7 separate regions of the Homo sapiens genome follow, and all the other regions are linked to region 4. The links are contacts of gene promoters, found by promoter capture Hi-C in blood cells and fetal thymus (Javierre and others, 2016). All regions are on one chromosome and are shown on one strand. The core of a region is centred on a gene start or on the middle of the fragment in contact, and the rest is flanking DNA. Distances in the headings are between cores, read along the strand shown.

Region 1 (2,981 bases), core at 6-2,505, 640 kb before region 4:
TGGAGAGGAAATAATGGTGAGGAACGGCGGGCGTGGAGTTCAGATGATCAGGTTTTATTTAAATCATTATGTATTTTATTTTCAATTGTATTATATAAACATAACTATCCCTTCCAACCTGTAATTCCACAGACACTGCTCAGGAGACTGATAAAGTTGATTTAAAGGAAATAATAATAGACCTAGTGGTATTAGGATGTAGAAAAATCACCAACTTGGTAAATAATAGTAATAATGATTATAACAGCCAACGCTTATAAAGTGCTTAGTATGGGCCAAGTACAATTTATAAGTGTTTTTTGTATTTTTGTATAATCTTTATAACCACCATGCAGTACAATTGTCATCCCTATTTTGCCAATAAGGAAACTGAGCAGCGAACTTATGTAACTTGCCTAAGGTCACACAGGTACTGGATTTGAATCCAGACAGCTGGCATCTGCGTGCGTGCTTAGAGAAACCAAGGTGTGGGACCCCCAGGAGATAAGGAGCAAACCAGCCTTGGGAGGTGAGAGTCAGAGACAGTTCAAGGCAGAGGAGGTGTTTAAAGTAGTTCATGAAGGATGAGTACTGTGGACCAATGGACAGGGGGCAAGGGTATGTTAGGTGGGAGGGCTGGGCCACAACAGGTGCACGGCTTGTTTGGGGTTGAGAGTGGTGGGCTGGGAGTGGCAGGGTGGTGTGGCAAAGGGCATGTGACGTGGGAAATGAAACAGGGTTCATACCACTGAAGTCCTCATGTGTCTGGCTGGACTTTATCCTCTGAGATACTGACTAAATTTTCACTCTGGAAAGAGACTCTGATGGCCGTGGAGGGGGCTGGCCATGTGGGGGACTGGCCACGTGGGGGCTGGATGACTCAGAGAGGCCTGGGAGGGGCGCTTTTACTCAGTTGCTCAGGAGATGGAAACTTCATGAGTCAGAAGGAACATCTGCCCCCATGATCGCTCTCCATTGAGTGGAAGCAGTTATGAGATTGGTGAGATTGTCTGGTGGGGCCAGGGGAACACAACCTTACCCCTCCCTTCTCCCTCCTCCTCCACGCTGCAAAGCTCTGGTCTCATAAAGGGACCCATGCTGCCTGCCTCAAGCTGAGGCCCCTCTCCAGTCCTAGTTCCAGATACCCAGGAGACCTTCCTTACCCTCTCACTACACTGGCTGCTCTCTTTCCTAATCCTCATGGATGAGGATGGGGGTCGGGGGTGGGGGGCAGTGGGCAGCCTGGCATCCTCCCTGAGGCTGCCTGGGTGTGGATCTGCAGATACAATCTCTATCCTCCCAGGTCTCAGGACCTGGGGGCTTGGGGAGGGTGGAAGCCCAGTTTTCAGCCTGAGTACTTACTAGCTTATTCATCAACCCAGCTGTATCAATAACAAATCAGTTACTATATTTCAGTCCCCATCTAGTACCAGGTCTGGTGTGATGAAGACTAAAAGGAAGGCATGCAACTGATTCACAACAATAGCCATTCCTTACCACAACCTCATGCATTATTATTGTCCCCATTTGGATAGGAGGAACAGGCTCAAAGGGCTTAAGCAACCTGCGGGAGGTCACAGTTAGTGAATGCCAAAACCAGGAATCAAGCACATGGCTTCTCTCACTTAAAAAAAAAACAAAAACAAAAACAAAAAAACAAAAAACCCCCATATTTCAGGTAACTAAGCTGGTCTTTAAAAGTCCCTCATATACTAGTATAATTTAACTGTTAGAAATCAGAAAGTTTAAGGAAATATTCTGTCTGCATAGTTTTGGATGTGCAACTAAAGTCTTACAAATAAAATAATCATGAATGATGAAATGATAATTATCCGAGAAAGGCAGCTGCCTATTTGGATAGACTTACACATTTTATAGAACTCAGTGTTAACACTGGCCAATTTTTTCCCTCTTGGTTCTTCTCTGAATTTCAATGAATTTTTCATCAGCATATTAATTAGTGCAAATCTTGGATTGCACTTTGTAATTAAGATCTTATGTGTTCCTCTAGATCTTACGTTTGAGTTAAATGTTAATTTTTCAAAGAGAAAAATTAGGAATTTGACAACTGCCTTCCTTCCTGGCAATAGAATATACATGCTGCCTGTCAAAAAAGATGGAATGCCTGAGTTTCTAAGATAGGGAGTGATAGATTATTCATCATGAAATTGCAAACTCATTTGCCCCATATCACAATCAATTGCTGACAGCAGTTTTTCTGGAAACCCATTTGTGAAACGCATTTGGGAGTCTAGTCACCGAATGTTAACTCGGATTCCTTGACTTGCCATTAGTCTTTGTAACTTTTCCTTAGTCCATGTCCTGATTTGCTCTAATTTCTATCAATTTTAAAGTCACCAGAAGAAAGTTATGTAGTATAAGTTCATTTTCCCATAGTAATAATAAAGTTCTTACCACATGCTCTTGAGAGGCAATTCTCCACGGATCGCTCTTACTTCTGCACATCTTATGAGCAGGAGCACTGACTTTTTGTTGTGGGTTATCTTTTCAAAGATGCTTATTAGCAAACAGCCTTAGAAGACAGAGATAGTATCTTCTCCTGGAGCAAAGAGCAGGCATGCTGACTGCCCATTATAAAAGATTTGGGTTCTCTAAGCTCAGGGTTCCCCTCCTGTAATGCAGCCCACTGTATGTGCCGGTGATGCCTTTGTGTCACTCCATAGGAACTGAGCTCAGGGAACTAGCACAAATACTGATGCTACTGCTATAGCTGTTGCTGTGAGTAATAAAGTCCTTTGCTTCTGACCAGGGGTCTCACGTCACCCACCAGCTTCTATGAAATGTGGCAGGCTAACTTGCGAGCTTGCAAGTAGGATAAAAATTCCAGAGCTTTCACAGTCCTTGACACATGCCAGGCACTGTTGTGTGTGTGTGTGTCCTTATAGCAACTGTATGAGGTATTATTCATCCTCATTTTACAGATGAGGAAACTGAGGCACAGAGACATTATTCAAATAGGTGGCAAAGCTAAGATTTGAACC
Region 2 (2,730 bases), core at 156-2,655, 990 kb before region 4:
CTTTTTCCTACTGACCAATAATTTGTCATGTATAGTTTACTGGCTACCACAGAGATTTCTGGAGTTGTCTGGCTCCAGCGTTTAAAAGTAATGGTTTTGGGCAACTCTGTGAAATGGAGATAACAATTGCACCTACCTTACAGAAATGTTAGAGTTAAATAAGATAACCTGAAAAAGTACTCCAGTACTTGCCACACAAATGCTCAGCAAATGTGAGCTACTGTTATTATACTAAACACGCACACATACATGAGAATTTCTGGATTCTCTATTCTATCTCCCATGTCTCATCTATGTAATCCATCCAGCAACATTCCATTACCAACTCGCTGTCCTTTTTTTCCCTCCTCTTAAGAGACACGGTCCTTTCTAATGGCCCGTTTTCCCTCATTTCAACAACAACAAAATCACCTCTCAGTTGTCCAATAATAACTACAGCCTGAAAATCATAATCTTGGGGGTAAAAATAAGCTGTACTTCACAAAGCAGTGAGAATCAAAGCCCAACCAAGGCACTGAACAAACGCTGGGGATGGGAAGGTGTCTGTTTCTTCCAACACGTATTTTGAAAGGCTGACCGCCTACTTTGTTTCAGACTTTGGATGATCATGGAAGTTCTCAAAAGCTAGCAACTCCTCTTCCAACTATTGTTTACAGCCTTAAGACAAGTAGTTCCCCATGTGACCCCAGGTGGGCCCTGAACTTGGGATAACCAGGACAGGAGACTTGGAGCAGGAGGTGCGGGGGCGAGGAGGGCTCTCTCCCGGGCGATTGGTCCTAACCCGAGGTTCCCTCGTGGCAAGCTGAGCCGACTCCCCACTCGTGGGCTGATGCCCGAGGCAGACGCGGCAGGCAGGCGGCTTCGGGAGCGCATATCTGCACCCATGGGGACGATGGCAGGCTGGCGAAGGGAGAGAGGTGGCGGCAGGACTACCATTTGAGGCTCTCAAATGGTGTGGGGAAGAGGGAAGGAGAGGCGCGAAAAGGAGGAAAACCCCTGGAGACGCTGTGTCGGGCGGAGGCTAGGGAGACCGGCTTCGCGCTCCAACGACGCGCATCACTCAGACTCCAAGGCAAGTGCCCGGGGCTAGATTTTCCGTCCCCTGGGGCTCTGGGGATCTCTGAGTCCATCCCAGGGCCCTCCAGGAACGCCTTCGGGAGCGCAGCCCGGCCCCGCCGCTGCCGCTGTCACCCGTGGCCGCTCCCGCCTCGGTTCGTTTGTCTCCTCCCTCTAACGGCTCCGGCAGCAACCGGCGTCGGTGGCGTGGGTGACGTCGGCGTGGGGGGTGGGACTTCCTGCTTCGCGTGCCGCTGGGCCAAGGGACAGAGCCCGCTCCTCCAGGCTGGTGGGGCGGTGCGATGAGGCGGCTTCTGGGCCATACGTCAGCACGTGGGGTGGCGCCGCACCCCTGAGGATCCCGGTCCACGCGGAGGAGTGGGGCTTTTCACCGCCGCCGCCGCCGCCCTCGGACCTCTCCCGGGATACTTCACATTTCCCTAGGGACGGGAGCCCGAGGGGTCCGTTCGGCCCTCTTCCTCTCGCTGGGCCGACACCCCGCTGTAGGACCGTAACCCTTAGTCCCAATGCCTCCGTAAGCGGAGTTGAGTGGGTGCCTGTGGTTGGAGCTGTGGAGGTGTCCCCGGTGGCGAGCGCGGCCAGAACTGCGGTCACTTAAGTTTTCCGTGTGCGGGTTGCAAGGAGCGTGCGTGCGTCTGGTATGTAACCTCTCTTTCTGGGGACGGTGTCTTGTTTGTATTTTGGAATACTCATTTTGTCCCTCCACAAACTGCCCTTGAATCCTTTTTTTATTTTCCTGTTAAAGTAGTGGAAGCTCGTGCTAGAAAAGTAGGCAGAGAGACGCACGTGAAACTCTTCATGGAGCTTTTGGATGCACTCTGGCTTGGTGGTTGTGTAGCCAGTTTGGTAATTGGCCAGACGTTTAAGTACCTCCAGCTTAATTTACGATGAAAAAGCTATGCTACCATTTTCCTTGGCTTTGAAGACAATTTGAATGAACAGTGATGTCGACTGTCATTACTGAGATAAACACCTAAAATATGTTAGCATATGCTGGGTTTAAATACTTTGGTTAATCCTCAGTGTCCAACTTTTGACCATAATCAATGGGCATTTTGCTCTTAAGAATATCCACTGCTAAGTATTTGTAAAGCCTTTAGTTAGCTGAAATGAGGAAGCTCTTTCAAATCTTACAGATCTCTAGGATAAGGAAAGACTTGTCTGAATTTCGTGTATATGATATATACTTCATAATCTGTTCAGACTTTAAGCAGCTCTAAAACAGAGTGGGTTGTTAAAGCAGTGCTTCTGTTACCAAGCAACATGTCTGTAAACAAGTCTGACATTTAACTAAAACACAATTAAAGGTATCTATCCTACAGTTACCTGGATTTAGAATTTTCCATATTTATGAATTTAGCCTGTAAGTGGTTAGAATTAATACTCACCTTTTGTATTGAGGTTTGATTTCAAACTCAGTTTGTTCAGAATTGTTAGAATGCTTTATTTATTTATTTATGACTGAGTCTCACTCTGTCGCCCAGGCTGGAGTGCAGTAGCGCGATCTCGGCTCACTGCAACCTCCGCCTCCTGGGTTCAAGCGATTCTCCTGCCTCAGCCTCCCGAGTAGCTGGGATTACAGGTGCGTGCCACCATGCCCGGCTAATTTTTTTATTTTAGTAGAGATGGGGTTTCACCATGTTGGCCAGGCTG
Region 3 (2,925 bases), core at 196-2,695, 680 kb after region 4:
AGCCTTCTGTAAACCCCACTCCACAGCATCTCACACTCACTGTTTTTCTGTGCATTTGGCACATAGCGTATACTCTCCTGCCCTGTGTAGCTTCCATTTTACATGGCTGTTCTGCTTTTTGGGCGATGTACTCAACTCCCTTAAGTCAAAGACCAGCTTGTACCCTCCTGTTCTGTCTTAGCAGTGTTCTCAATTAATGGTTAGGTGCTGGATTAGTGAAGAACTAGCTGATGTTAATTCTTCCCTGAAAAAAGCCTCAAGGGGTTTAGTGTTCTACTGGCAGTCATTGAAAATTAAGATTTAATTTATATCAGAAAGACGTAACTGGGTTACTGGTAAGAAGTAAACTTTCAGGAAGCTTAAGAATCCTCATAAATAAGATCTTTATTTATTTATTTCATCTTTCTTTTTTTTTTTACTGAGTACTTGCTGTATACAAGCCTACTCAGCAAGGATCCTTTGCTAAATTACGTTTTCTGCCTCCTTTTCAAAGGAGCTGTATCTCCAGAATAAGAAAGATCAGCTTTTTCCAGATCTGATGGAAGAGATCAGTTGGATCTCTTACCCTGCTGATTCTTCGCAGTAGCAGCTGAGAGTGGCAAGGTTCCTACCATACCCATTATCTACCTGTTACCATATTTATCCCCAACTGAAGTGTCATGAGTGAAAAAGCTTCCCCTTTCCCCAACTTCTTCTTCTCAAAATACTTGGGCTTTAAAACAGTCAACAACTATGGACTATGTTAAATGACAATCACTACTTCTACGATATAGATGAGAAGAGGACAGTGTGCTTTCTCAGGATAGAGCCTCATTCTATGTTTGGCTGAATTTTCTCTTTTTGTTCACTTGATCAGGTTGTCAGCTGTGAAGTTGTTATTATTTTTATTCCATGACAAAATAATCCTTCCTATTTGTTTCAGGAAAAACTCTCTCAAATTGTGTTTTTCCCCTACTCTCACACCACAACAATCATCAACACAGAAGACTTCTGTGACCAAACATATGGGGATTTTCCCACACACACCAAGAAGCAGACACCAACTGTGTGTCTTCCAATTTAATTCTGACAGTATCTCCCTAGAGATAGTATCAAATCCCACAGATTGGGGGCTCAATCCCCAAGACTGCTCCCTACAACTCCAAACACCAATCATTAATCCAGGCTTCCAGAACTTCTGACCAACTAGCTAGTTTCAAGTTGGGGTTTTCATGACACCCTCTTTGGGTTCAGTTAGTTTGCTGAACAGCTCACAGAACTCAGGGAAAACTTACTTACATTTACTGATTTATTATAAAGGATATTACAGAGAATACAGATGAAGAGATGTGTTGGGTGATATGGGGGAAGGGGCACAGAGCTTCCGTGCCCTCCCCGGGCATGCCACCCTCCAGGCTCCGTATGTTCAGCTATCTAGAAGTTCCCCAAACCCAGTTCTCTTGGATTTTTATGGAAGCATTCTTTCACCCAGGGTATGAGGCAGGACCCTTTCAGGGAAGAGTCTTAAGACTCACAATCAGAAAATGGGGTGGGGAAGAAGATTAGAGGCCTGCCTAGGGACCAGTGGAAGAAGGGCAGGAGACGAGATTCTGTTTCCTGAGGCCTAACATACCCAACATTGTAACAAAAAACTGTAACAAAGGATGTGGGAGTTGTGATTCAGGAACCCTGGACAAAAACCACTATATCATAACACCATACTATTTATTAATATTTTTAGCATGTCAAGGGACATCATAGAACCTACCAAATGTATATGTATGCATAATGAAGCATTTAATTATATCTCTTTTAAGATTGTTTTCTTTCACACTGCCTTATGACTTTAACCATATATATGTTCTCTGAGTGTATCTGATATGGTCCCTACTTATTTGGTATTCTTTCATATCAACTAGCCAATATTGAAGATGTGATCAACATTCAGCAAATACTTTAAATATTTATTTAGTAAATAGATTATTTTTGGAGGCTTTGGAATTGCTTCCATTTTACTAAATATTTTATATTATAAATGTTTTCTATAAGCAAGAGAGTTAATATTTTAGAATTCTTTCTCTTTTACCTGTCTTACTGAAGGGTATAATATGCTATCTTTTTATAGTTTATTGCTTTCTACAATGTTTATATTAACTATGTTTCTGTTGAATTTACTAAAAACATGGCATATAATAATTTGGGAAAATTGTTTTTGTAAGTCTGTAGAAGAGAAGCTTTCTCTAGCACAGGAGGACTTGATTTCAAACAGAAATCAAATTGGAAATCAAAATAAATTGATTCAAGAACTGAAGACTGCCAAGGCTACATTGGAGCAGGATTCAGCAAAGAAAGAACAGCAATTGCAGGAGCGATGTAAAGCACTACAAGACATTCAGAAAGAAAAGGTATTGCATGTTTCTGACCTAAATCTACAATCTTAGAGTTACAGTTGTCTTAGAGATCATCCAGTCAAACCTCTTATTTAGTACAGGCATCATCCTTATTTTCAACAGCTCTCTCAGAGGGACCTCTAGTTTCTGACACTTTTGATCATTGGGATTTTAATGCTAGGAAGTACTTCTTAATGGCCTCCTTGTTATTTCTACCCTTTTTTCTTACTGCTCTTTAGTTTTACAAACAAGTCAATTTTTCACACCATAGACCCTTGGTTATTGCAGAAAAGATAATATAGTTCCTCAACTATTTCTCATATAACGTATTATCCTTTAGATGTGTGAATGAGATAATAAAAGATCTAGAAATAATTCTTAAACATGTTAAGAATTCTTAAAATTAAGAACCAGATTGTCTAAGGAGTTTATTAAGTTTCAAAGTTGAAAGCATTGGTTTACTAATATATGACCAGTACATTTTAAAAATCACTTTAAATTCTGTATGAAAGAAAAATTCAGATCCTAGGAAAGAGTTTATTTTTTGTTTTATAGT
Region 4 (2,700 bases), core at 183-2,682:
CAGCTCCTTCCACTTAATGAATACTCAGTAAATGTGTAATTACTCTTGAAACAGTCACTCACAAATGGTACACAGAGTATTCATTCTTTTAATGCTAGTGTGGCTGTGTACACCCTCCAAGGTTCCATACACAAGATACTACATCATTTACAGTACTATCCTGTTTCTGATTAAATGAAATAGTTGTCTGCCCTGAGCCATTAATAATAATAATAATAATAAAGAAATATCAAACAAGGCCTATCCTTAGCCTATTACTCAATTGGAGGAACTCATAAATGCCCTCAAGTCCCAGATAAAATTTCACCATCTTATATGTGTACAAAGTCTTTAACTTTCCAACGTACTTTCACCACCATTTCATTTTGCTCTCGTATTAATCATGTGAGGTATCTTTATTCTGATTCATGAAGAAACTAAAGTACAAAATTTAAACGTCTTGCTTCCAAGGACTTTAGAGTCAGTCACTGCCAAATTGGGAAACTTTAAACAAGTCATTAACTAAACGATCCTCAGTTTCTCCAATGACAAAATGGGGAAAACCACAATCTTCATGGCCTGTTGTGAATAAATGACAAATAACCATTGTTAAATCTTGTTTTTAATAGTCTTCAATGAGTATCCGTGCCCTTCCCCCCAATAGTGATAAAAGAGAATTAGGACACAGGCCCTCTTATTTGCTAGTCTAAACCACTCACACTGATACCTTGCACTGCCAGTACATTAACACCGTTAACCCTGAGCTCATAGGTGTGCTTTTTAGTTTACAACCCACTTTCATATACAATATGTGCTCTGACTTTCACAAGTGTGTGAAGCAGCATCTCCATTTCAGATTAAGAACAAAGGCTCAGAGAGGTCAATCGATTACTTGCTCAGTATATCGCTGCTTAATACATGCGTGGGACGTAAACCCATGACTTCTGACCACGAATAAAACATCTTGGGGGAAATTAGGTCCCCTCTGTCCGAAGCCCAGAGAAAAGCACGCCCTGCTGGGAGTCAGATTATTCACCCCAGGAAGATCATTTCAGAGATCAAGTCCCTCAGCCCGGAATTCAACCCCAAAACAAAAGCTACAGAGCCTCTGAGGGTCAGAGGTTTGAGGAACAGGCTACCAAGAGCACCAGAACTCTTCGACCTAAAGGAGTCCCTAGAGCCACAAGCTGCATCACCTCCCCACGGGCGTCCGCCAGGGAACAAAGGGGGCGCTATAAGAAACGCGCAGCCACATGCCGGCTCTTCTGCAGGAAGGACAAAGGCTGGGGATGCAGGCAACCTCGCCCTGCCGGGAACGACAGGCGGGAGACCTCTACAACTGCCGACCAACACTGTGGGACTGCCCAGTTTCGAGGAAGTCCTCGACAGGAGGAGTAGAGGGAAGCGGTTACCTTGACGGCTTCTCACCACGAACCCGCCATCTTGTTTCAATCCTGGTCCCACGAAACAGCGCTGCGCGCGCCGTCCCAGCCCGCGGGGCATTCTGGGAAATGTAGTCTCCGCGGGAAAGCGGCCCGGGTGCAGAGAGAAAGGGAGGATTGTTGCTATGGACTTTTACCTTTAGTTGGGGAAGCGTGGCCGCAGTGTTACTAAGGTGCCCAGAAAAACAAAATCACTGCCCCAAACACATACCCTTAGAAAGTAACAAGCTTTTTTTTTTTTTTTTTTTTGTGAGGCAGTCTCATTCTGTCACCCAGACTGGAGTGCAATGGCTCCCTCACGGCTCACTGCAGCCTCTACCTCCTGGGCCCAAGAGAGCCTCCCACCTCAGCCTCCTGAGTAGCTGGTACTACAGGCGCACACCACCACACCCAGCTAATTTTTTAATATTTTTGTAGAGACGAGGTCTCGGTATGTTGCCCAGGCTTGTCTCAAGCAATCCTCCTGCCTCGGCGTCCCAAAGTGCTGGAATTACAGGCATGAGCCACCATGCAAACCTATAAGTACTTTTTAAAAAAATTATGTTAATATTCAGAGAAATCGTAGATTGCTCTTTAGTAGATGAGTTAAAGTTTCCCAGGGGAAGAGACATTCCAGAGAAGCCCTGAAATGTGGAGGCTAGGATTTGGACGTTTGAAATCAGAACCTGAAGAGAACCTCCACTCTGAAAACCTGGCACTGTGCCCTCAGAACTGTGCTGGCTACCTATTATGGGAGGAAGTAAATATGCAGAATCTTGGACCTCGCTTTCCATCTTAGGAGGAAGGAAAGACCTCTGGGCCTTTGCACTCTCTGTTCCCATTGCCAGCAATGTGCTTCTCTGACCTCTTCTCATGACCTTACAGGTCTTTCTCAAATATCATCTTAGAAAGGACCACACCATTAAAATAGCCTCACCCACCCTTATTCCATGCCCCGCTTTATTTTCCTTCAGAATATTTACCATTACCTGACTTTATATTGATTATTTGTTTGCTCGTTGAATGTCTCTTTCTTTTTTTTTTTTTTTTTGAGACGGAGTCTTGCTCTATCGCCCAGGCCGGAGTGCAGTGGCATGATCTCAGCTCACTGCAACCTCCGCCTCTCAGCTTCAAGCGATTCTCCTGCCTCAGCTTCCTAATTAGCTGGGATTACAGGTGGCCACCACCACGCCCAGCTAATTTCTGTATTTTTAGTAGAGATGGGGTTTCGCCATGTTTGCCCGGCTGATCTCGAACTCCTTACCTCAGGTGATATGCCCACCTCGGCCTCTCAAAGGGC
Region 5 (2,801 bases), core at 134-2,633, 660 kb before region 4:
TCACAAGGACAGAAAACCAAACATTGTATGTTCTCACTCATAGGTGGGAATTGAACAATGAGAACACTTGGACACAGGGTGGGGAACATCACACACCGGGGCCTGTCGTGGGGTTGGGGAGGGAGGAGGGATAGCATTAGGAGATATACCTAATGTAAATGACGAGTTAACGGGTGCAGCACACCAACATGGCACATGTATACATATGTAACAAACCTACATGTTGTGCACATGTACCCTAGAACTTAAAGTATAATTAAAAAAAAAAGATTTCTTATTTCCCAGATCCTCCCTCCTCTCTCTTTCCTACTCCTTAGCTTGCCCTCTCATCATTTCATCACTAGGCTATTTTAGGTGAGACTGGTGGTCCTGGTCCCAGGTTCATTGCCCACCTCCTCCAACCCAGCCTTTGCATTGCCCTTTCATTGTCTTCCGATATGGAAAGCTGATGGGATTACTTCCTGTTAAAAATCCTTCAATGACTCCCCATTGTTTCCCAATTGTTTTATACCATGGCTTCATTGGGCCCCACTCTTCTTGGCAATACCTTCCTACACCAAACAAGGGCACTGGCTGCCAGAGGTGACCAGCCTAGGAGCTCCCTCTGTCAGGTTCCACCCAGCAGTCCCAAGGGCTGAGAGGGCAGGGTAGTATCTCAACACTCTATGGAACACTTATTGGGAAGCCCTGACTTAGAGGATACAGCTTATATTTCTTAGCTTGATATATAAGGTCCCTGCCTGACCATTTTTGCAATATTGTGTCTTCCATTCCTTCATGTGCACATGTGACTGGGCTCTGGGCTGAGCTAGATGAAGAGTAGCTCCTTGGGGCCAGCTAATCTGAACTCTGGGGATCTATTGGCACAGGCTGATAAGCCTGCAGATGATTGTTGCTGTTTTGGTCTGTCTAAAGGAAGAGGTTGATGCTAGCCTTCTATGGAAAGACACAAAGGAAAGTAGATGAAATTAGTATGCTTACTATTCCTCAGACATTCCTTAATAGAGAGCAGGGGTAGTCAGCAGCTAGAAGGTATACGCTGACCAAAAGTTGATGACATTCAGGGCATTTATCTTGGGGTCCCATTCCATGAATGGAGCTAGACCCATTCACCTTCGGGTCTAGTGGCAGAGTGAAACACAGAGTCAGAGAGAAGGGCTTTCTTACTCTCCTTGCATCAAAGGGAGGATAGAGAGAATCAGGGAAGAAGCTACATTCTCAAAGATATTCCCCTGGGGACTCCCCAAAATGACTGGAGAGATTGAAGGAGGAAGAGGTTGAGTCCTAGAGTTATACAAGTTAGGGATAATCAGGCAGAAAAACTCAGGGGGTATTAGTTGTGACCCCATTGATACCCACTGGGGAGACCTGTGCAAAATAGTTTTCAGAAGCTGTATACATCGGTTGTGATGTGTTTAGCTATAAGGGGAAAAAACCCCTAATTACTTAGAACATAGGCAAGTAGAGGTTAATCTTTTCTTGCACAAGAAGGAGCCCAGTTGCTAGTACTGGTTGCTATTCAGTGTTACTATTAAAGAGCCCCTCCAGGCTTTTAATATCTTTCTCCTGTCACAAGATAACTGCCACAACTGTAAACATTGTATTTGTTTTCAAAACGAGGGGAAGGCTACTTTCTCCTAGCAAGACTCTGTCTTTTTTTTTTGCCCAAACAGAAATCCCTGAGCAGACTTCCCCCTTAGACGTCATTGACCAGAATGTGGTCACATGCCCACACTATACCAATGTCTGGTGAAGAGAAAAAGAATGACCATAATTGGCTCATGATTGGCTCATAAGCCCAAGTCTGGAGGAGGAACTTACCTTCCTTAAGATTATCCCAGATACACAACTAGGTTCTCTTAGCAGGGAAGAAATGAGTGTCCGGTACGTAAAGAATGCTTGTGTATTGTTACATCCTAAAAGAGTCACAGTTCTCTGATGCTGGAATTCTCCCCGTCCCTCTTGCCATTGCCTAAATCCAACCCATGCTTTGGGTTCCCACTCCAGCATCTTCTCTGACTCTCATTTTCATTCTCCAGAAATGACCAGCCCTTTCTGGGTGTCACCGACATACCTAGTCCATATGCCTACACTTGCTCTTGTTACACTCCATCGCGATATGTATTTGTCTAGTGTCCCTGTGACCTCAGAACTCCTTGAAGGAAGTTCATATTATATTCATCTTTGTCTCTAATATCTAGTATGATGCCTGGTACATAGTGTTCAGCATTTGTAGAAGAAATGTTGCGTAATAAAATCCAAATAGACGTAAGAAATCCAATATAGAAAATCATCATGTTAGCACTGACATCTTCAACCATGAAGGACCACTGGGTATGTACCATAGACAGTGATTCAGTTCAGCCACACCTATTTATGGGGGATCTATTGTCTGCCAAGCACCAGGGGCAACACAAGAGAAGGAGAACACAGTTTCTGTGGGAAGACCGTATGCAGAGCAAAGATAACTAACAAACAAAAATAGCATCTGATAAGTGTCTCATTAGAGCTACAGGAGAGCGTGGCGGTGGGGAGACAGAGGACACTGGGACAGTGGTAGAATGGTAATTAAAATCCACAGGTAATTCCAAGCCTTAATTTAATCAACACTTTCAACCTCCACCGGTCCACAACTTCTTAGTGATGTAGGAAAATTGTCAGATTTGAATGTCATTTCCTCGGGGAGCCCTGCCTATCTGTTGGTGCACCTGTGACCCAGTAGTAAAAGAACCACATGGTAAACAGCCAAAGAGGAAACCAGGGAGAAAAGGGGACCTTGATAATTCACAGCTTAGATAGTC
Region 6 (2,998 bases), core at 262-2,761, 620 kb before region 4:
ATCCCTACAGGAACCCTCCTGGCCCTCCACCCCAGGAAGATTATGGGAGGAGCAATTCCAGCTCTTCTTTCTAGTCTTCCTTGGGAAAATGGGGAGAGGGCATGAAGTCCCCCTCCTCAACACTTTCTGCCTGCCCCCAATGGCACCCATCCCCCTCCCCTCCACTCAGCTGAGAGTGCCTGCCCCACCATTGCTTGCTCTGTGACCAGGGTGCAACTTCAAATCAAGGGGAACGAGAAGATACTCCCTTTGGTCTTGGATCCAGGACAAGTCTTAAAACCAGCCTTCAGGGCAAGAATGCCATTCGTGCGATCTTTGATCCTCCTGGATGATTTCTCCATTGGTTTGGAATCCAAAGAAGAGAAAAAGTAGGATTCACCAACACCTTCAAATCCCCAAGGCTGTGGAGAAATCCTGGAAGCCAAGCCTGAATGACAGTAACACTTTCCTTGTTTTCCTTGCCTGTTGCCTATTAAAGAACAAGCTCAGAATTTATCACTGAGAGCACACCTATTGTTGCCCCAAACAGAGGTCTATAGCGTAGCAGGTTGGGAAGTCTTGAAAGGTATGAATAATACTTTCTAGAGAAGTGGTCAGGAGCTTCCTCCCCAAATACTCCAGCATTCTGTTCCTGTGGTAGATGCGGGGATGCACACCCAGGTCCCCTTATTAGACTAGTGCACCACCACACAGCTACTGGGAGTGCTGGCTGCTGCCTGATCTCAGGCACGCTCTTTCTGGAGAATCGTCCTCCGCCAGTGGGAACCTCCTCAGCCAGAGATGCTTGGGAGAACCCCTCACCCTCAGGGGTGGTCTGCACCAGTGACTGGCAGGCACAGGGTTATAAAGGCCTGGTCCCCTTGCCTTGAGGTCGGACAATTCCTTGGTGCCGGTCACGCTCCAGAGCTCCCTGTGGGATGGGGCTGAGGCTAGACTTCAGCTGAACTCACATCTCTATCTTCTTCCTCTGTCTCACCTGCTTCCCTAACTCCTTTACATACTTCTCCTGAAATCCGTTCACACGAGAATACCAATTTCATAGGCTCTGTTCCTAGGGAACCATCTCTGAGATGATACCCAAATAGGAAATTCTTTTCCTAATCACGATCCTTGGAGAATGTGGGAACTGACTGATCACTCTTTGCAACTGCCTCATAATTTGAAGACTTTTTAAGTGCCTACTCCATGAACCACTATTTATGGTTTGATTTTTAACATTGGCACTGCCCAGGATATGGGGGTCTAGATCTGAACTCATTCAGCAGGAACGGGACCATGAAAAGATTCTCTCTCAGTGCATCACTGCTACCATTAACCAGAACAAAGATGTGTGATTTCACCATCTCAAAGTCCTTTCTTATTTGTATATGATTTACTAGCATAACTCCATGGGAGAAAGTTGTATTTTTTTTTTTTAAATGAGGAAACTTAAAGTAAATACAGCTTAAGTGGGTTTCTTAAGTTCCTGGAGCAAGCTAAAGACAGGACTGGAGTAGCAAAGACTAGAAAGAGAGTTTCTGACCTTCAGTCTTAGGCTCATTCCATGACCTCCATCCTTGCCGCAACGTATGCCCTTCTTGTATGGACCAAGATACTTTATGATGCTGTGTCAGTGGTGGACTGTGTTTGGCTGATAACAAGAGAAACCGCAGATGGTGGTTTGAGCAATCAATGCTTCATTCCTTCACAACCCAAGAGGTCTGGGAGGGAAGCAGCCTGGGGTTGGCAGGCAGCTTCACAGTCATCAGAGTCTTAGATTCCTTTAGACTTTCTGTCCCTCCATCTGGGCTATGTCCTTTATTTTCTTTGTCCAATATAGTTGCTGGAGCCCAGGCCACCACACGTGAGTTCTAGATTGTGGGATGGAGGAAGGAAAGAAGAGAGGCCTCTTTTCTCTCTGTAAAGAGACTTCCCATAAGTCTCACTCCACACTTCTGTTCGCATTTCACTGGCCAGACACATGGCCACACCTAGAGCCTAGTGAAGTTTAAGCCTCAGAGCCATTCAGTTGCTGGAGTCCCTTCCAAATGTTTATGCCTGGTTTTGTATTCTTAATTTTAAATTATTTTCAATGATTTTCAGGAACAATTTGTGGAGCCATTATGGTGTGCAACTCACCCTCTTGGACATAGAAAAGAGCTAAAAGTAGGGAACTAGAGATTTATTGTGCCAGTTTTGTTTTAGGGGCATTAAACCAGAGAATGCATGATGTATCATAATAGTTTTGTAGAAAGCATGGAGGTGGTCTTTAAATACAGTCATGCACCACATAACGATGTTTTGGTCAATGATGGACTGCCTATGCTATGGTGGTCCCATAAGATTATAAAACTATATTTTTGCTGTACCTTTCTGTGATTAGATATGTTCAGATGCACAAATACTTACCATTGTGTTATAGTTGCCTGCAGTGTTCAGTAAAGTAACATGCTGTACAGGTTAGCAGCCTAGGAGCAAGAGGTGATGCCTTACAGCCAGCCTAAGTGTGTAGTAGCTGTACCATCTAGATTTGTGTGAGTACACTCTATGAGGTTTGCACATGAGGAAATCGCCTAACAATGCATTTTTTTCACAATGTATCCTGTTGTTAAGCCATGTAGGACTGTAGTTATTTCTTATATCAGTCCTGGAACAGGATAGAGTCACATTTTAAATACCATACTTTGTTGAATTGAAGACATCGTTGATAATAGATATATCATTATTTTATGTATCAGTAAGAAAAGGAAAACACTGCCAAATACATGATGACTTTCCATAGGCTATAAAATTCATTCTAAATTAAAAGATGTTAAAATGACAAAAGGGCACATTATAATATCAGTGATATATGGTGGTAACCATTCAATGAATACATTTCTGTAGGGACATAAAATAATATACTATAGAATGTAAGCTCTCTGGTGACATAAGAACATGGATAGAATTTAAAGAATGTTCATTTGAGTTGTTAGCTAACTGGGTAAGGATATATAGTACCATAGAAGAAAAAATCCCT
Region 7 (2,856 bases), core at 168-2,667, 680 kb before region 4:
TTGGCGCGCGCCTGGATCTCACTCATTCTGAAGAGGCAGAGCGCCGTGGTGGTGGGGGAGCGCCGCTCCTGGCCCTCTCCAGCGGCCGCGCTGAACACTCCCGCCCAGACGTCCAGGGCCTCCACTAGGCTGGAGGAGAGGAGCAGGCGGCGGCCGTCGGGGTGGCCGTGGCCGCAGTCGAGGGATGCCTGGCCCTGGAACAGCACCTCGGTGCTCTGCGCGATGCGCGCCATGCTGGGCCAGCCGGTGGCAGCGCCGCTCGTGTAGTTGTAGGGGTAGTAGGGGAAGTAGATGCTGCCGTTCCAGAGAAAGGCGTCCACGAAGTGCAGGCTGCCCGCGCCCTCGCACAGCTTGAGGCGCCCCAGCTCCTGCGTGGCCAGGCTGCGCCCCTCCGTGTCCTTGAGCGCGATGGCCGTGTCGTGGTCGGATGCCGCGGGGTTGCAGCGGCTCGCCGTCTCCGGCTCAGGCAGCACGTAGGTGGCGGCCACCGCCAGGTACCAGCGGTTGTTCCGGCCCGCGCGGTACACCACGCCGGCCGTCGAGCCCTGCGGGTGGCACGACACCACCTCGGTGCCGTTGCGCAGGGAGTTGCGGCTCAGGTTGCCCAGGGGCCGCACCTCGCAGGCGCCCCGGTCGAAGGTCCAGCCGGTGAGCAGCAGCCCCCCGAGGCCGGCCGCCCCCTCGCGGTAGGGCAGCAGCAGCTTGCTGAAGCTGCTCCCGGGCCGGGGCCGCGCGGGGGGCGCCAGCGAGACCGGCTCTGTGCAGTTGCCCGCTTGGTCCCGGTACAGGCGCGAGAGGCTGTGCTCCAGGCTGTAGTCCAGCTGGTCCAGGCAGCTGCCGCTCGCCACAAACACGCCGTCCTCCTGGCTCGCCGCGATGGCTCCGATGGCTTGCTCCGACCGCCACACGGGCTCGTCCGCGCCCCGGCCGGGAGCCGCCAGTGCCAGCAGATAGGCGAGCAGGGGCAGTGGCGCTGCGGGGCGCGGGGGGCGCGGCGGCGCCTTCCTCCGGGAGACCTCCATGGGGCTGGGGGGGCCGCCCCCGGGCAGGGCGCGCGGCGGCGACGGCGGCTCAGGCGCGCGGCAACGGAGACGCGGGCGGCGGCGGCGGCGGTTCCTGCGCGCGCTCGGGCTCCCGCGGCCGCCCCATCCCCGCAGCTCGCCCAGGAAGGAGAGCGGGGAGGGCGGCGCGCGGCAGGCTCGCTCCGGCAGCCTGTGCAGCGGCGGTGGCGGCAGCAAGCCCTGCGCGCTCCGGCACCGTTTCCTCCTCGCCCTCCTTCGCCGGAGAGTTCCTGTGTGCAGCGCTGGCGCTCGCGGGGAGGCGCGGAGGGGAAGGGAGGGGACGGGCGGAGAGGAGCGAGGCGGGCGGGGAGGGCTGGAGAGGTTGGGTGCGCTTGTGCGTTTCACTTTCCCATTGTGAAAGTGGGATGCAACTGGCCCCCTTCCTCATCCTCTCTTCCTCCTCCGCCCTCCGCCTCCTGCCCGCCCGCCCGCCCTCCCTCCACGCCCATCTCCCCTCCCCTCTTGATTCGGTGAGATAGGGAGGAGGGAGGTCTCGTAATTTGGGTTACTGTGTAGGTGGCCTCTTTCATCTATTCATAACAAAGCTCAGCCGCCCGCCGCGGCCGCCGCGGCCGCCACCATCGCCCCCTTGGCTCGCCTGGGGCTCCCGGGGCGCGCTAACGGCGCACGGAGCGGGCTCCCGCGCCCGTCCGCCCGCGGTGCTGCTCCAACGCCCGGTTTTGTTTACGACAGCAGCCGGGTCGGGGATACGCCAGGCGCGCGGAGCGAGGATCCAGGGTGCGAAGGGGTTGCAGCTGAGGCCCCGGGCTCGGGCCACAGGGCTGCTGCGAGAGCGGCTGACAGGTGTGGAGCGGCGAGAGGGAGGCCCCGGGGAGGCGCGCGGGAGACATGGCCGAGCCGGAGACTCCGGGGACCAAGGCGCCCCTGTGACAGGGTGTGGGTTTCCCCGGGTCGGATGAGTGAGGTGGCAGAAAGGCAGGCGCCACACTCTCGTTCTGGACAATCCCCAGGGCCGGAGCGCCCATATTTGCAAAGGTTCTCTAATCTCCCTTGGCAACAGAGTCCCAGGCTCTCAAGCCTAGCACTTGGAAAGTTCTGCTCACCATCTAACCTAATGAGCGGGGCTAACATTTACTGAGCACTTACTACGTGCCGGGTGCGCTTGTGAACTCACCACATGGGTTAAGACTCATAATTCTCATAACAGCCCTATTAATTAGTGACTGTTATTGTCATCCCTACTTAGTAGTCCAGGAGAATGGTTATAGAAAGGTTGTGGAACGTGCTGGCATTCTACTGCTGGTAGATATCAGAGCCGAGATTCGAATCCATATCTAGCCCCAGGGCCTCTTACATACCTGGCTCTAGTTAAGTGCCACCTGTGGCCATTGCCATAATCCCCCAGAGATCATTCTCTGTAGTGAGACTGAAAAGTTCCTCAAGTTAAATGCACCAACCAGCCCCCGCCCTGCTTTCTACTATTAGACCCAAGTCCCCGTATTTCCCTCGAGGCTCTCCATCTGTCTCATCATTACCCACTTTTATCCTTTGGACCCCCTGAGGTCTCACCACCTCACCCAGAGGGTGAATAACAGCTGGGTTGCCCCCACAGCCGCCAAGAATTTCTGAAGCACAGGGAATCATTGCCCACTGGGGAATAGGTTCATGATTTCTCGGAATGGGGCTTCCCAGAGGATGCACAAATGCCTCCCAGCTTCCCGGGGCAGCTGCGGGCACCATCAGCACCCTTACAGTCTGGCAGATGAGCCAGGGGGTGCATAGGAGTGGAGGGTGCTGAGGACCTCTATGGATCGTTGGGAAATGATCTCTGTTC

Evidence for each region. Contacts are between HindIII fragments. The CHiCAGO score rates a contact against its expected background, and 5 or more counts as called.
Region 1: a contact is called between a fragment that was not itself captured here and the fragment with the promoter of MRPL42 in region 4, in 5 of 17 cell types (non-activated CD4 T cells, activated CD4 T cells, naive CD4 T cells and 2 more). The highest score is 7.6, in non-activated CD4 T cells.
Region 2: a contact is called between the fragment with the promoter of CEP83 here and the fragment with the promoter of MRPL42 in region 4, in 1 of 17 cell types (total CD8 T cells). The highest score is 5.4, in total CD8 T cells.
Region 3: a contact is called between a fragment that was not itself captured here and the fragment with the promoter of MRPL42 in region 4, in 5 of 17 cell types (naive CD4 T cells, non-activated CD4 T cells, fetal thymus and 2 more). The highest score is 9.6, in naive CD4 T cells.
Region 5: a contact is called between a fragment that was not itself captured here and the fragment with the promoter of MRPL42 in region 4, in 1 of 17 cell types (fetal thymus). The highest score is 7.8, in fetal thymus.
Region 6: a fragment that was not itself captured here is called in contact with the fragment with the promoter of MRPL42 in region 4 in 3 of 17 cell types (fetal thymus, total CD4 T cells and activated CD4 T cells); the score reaches 6.0 in fetal thymus.
Region 7: a contact is called between the fragment with the promoter of PLXNC1 here and the fragment with the promoter of MRPL42 in region 4, in 10 of 17 cell types (naive CD8 T cells, total CD8 T cells, non-activated CD4 T cells and 7 more). The highest score is 8.3, in naive CD8 T cells.

Annotation. Positions count from the first base shown.
Region 1 is chr12:94,107,279-94,110,259 of GRCh38, reverse strand. The region is part of intron 1 of LOC124902986 (a long non-coding RNA gene); the gene reads right to left. Among named protein-coding and RNA genes, the nearest start is that of PLXNC1, 40 kb to the left of the region's middle. RefSeq lists an enhancer at 679-958. The HindIII fragment of the contact is 6,207 bases long and covers 1-2,981 here.
Region 2 is chr12:94,458,542-94,461,271 of GRCh38, reverse strand. It overlaps CEP83 (centrosomal protein 83), which reads left to right and starts at 1,405. Exons shown (of 17, transcript NM_016122.3): 1 at 1,405-1,715. It overlaps CEP83-DT (CEP83 divergent transcript), which reads right to left and starts at 1,269. Exons shown (of 1, transcript NR_027035.1): 1 at 1-1,269. RefSeq lists an enhancer at 939-988. The HindIII fragment of the contact is 10,845 bases long and covers 1-2,730 here.
Region 3 is chr12:92,781,409-92,784,333 of GRCh38, reverse strand. It overlaps EEA1 (early endosome antigen 1), which reads left to right. Exons shown (of 29, transcript NM_003566.4): 23 at 2,199-2,384. Among named protein-coding and RNA genes, the nearest start is that of PLEKHG7, 80 kb to the right of the region's middle. The HindIII fragment of the contact is 1,541 bases long and covers 675-2,215 here.
Region 4 is chr12:93,466,246-93,468,945 of GRCh38, reverse strand. MRPL42 (mitochondrial ribosomal protein L42) reads right to left here and starts at 1,432. Exons shown (of 6, transcript NM_014050.4): 1 at 1,392-1,432. RefSeq lists enhancers at 1,211-1,480, 1,541-1,600. The HindIII fragment of the contact is 2,939 bases long and covers 1-1,651 here.
Region 5 is chr12:94,127,375-94,130,175 of GRCh38, reverse strand. No RefSeq gene overlaps it. Among named protein-coding and RNA genes, the nearest start is that of PLXNC1, 20 kb to the left of the region's middle. The HindIII fragment of the contact is 7,025 bases long and covers 1-2,801 here.
Region 6 is chr12:94,088,724-94,091,721 of GRCh38, reverse strand. No RefSeq gene overlaps it. Among named protein-coding and RNA genes, the nearest start is that of PLXNC1, 58 kb to the left of the region's middle. The HindIII fragment of the contact is 6,898 bases long and covers 1-2,998 here.
Region 7 is chr12:94,147,138-94,149,993 of GRCh38, reverse strand. It overlaps PLXNC1 (plexin C1), which reads right to left and starts at 1,417. Exons shown (of 31, transcript NM_005761.3): 1 at 1-1,417. The coding sequence starts at 1,022. RefSeq lists an enhancer at 291-390 and silencers at 591-830, 961-1,190, 1,261-1,510, 1,521-1,650. The HindIII fragment of the contact is 5,941 bases long and covers 1-2,856 here.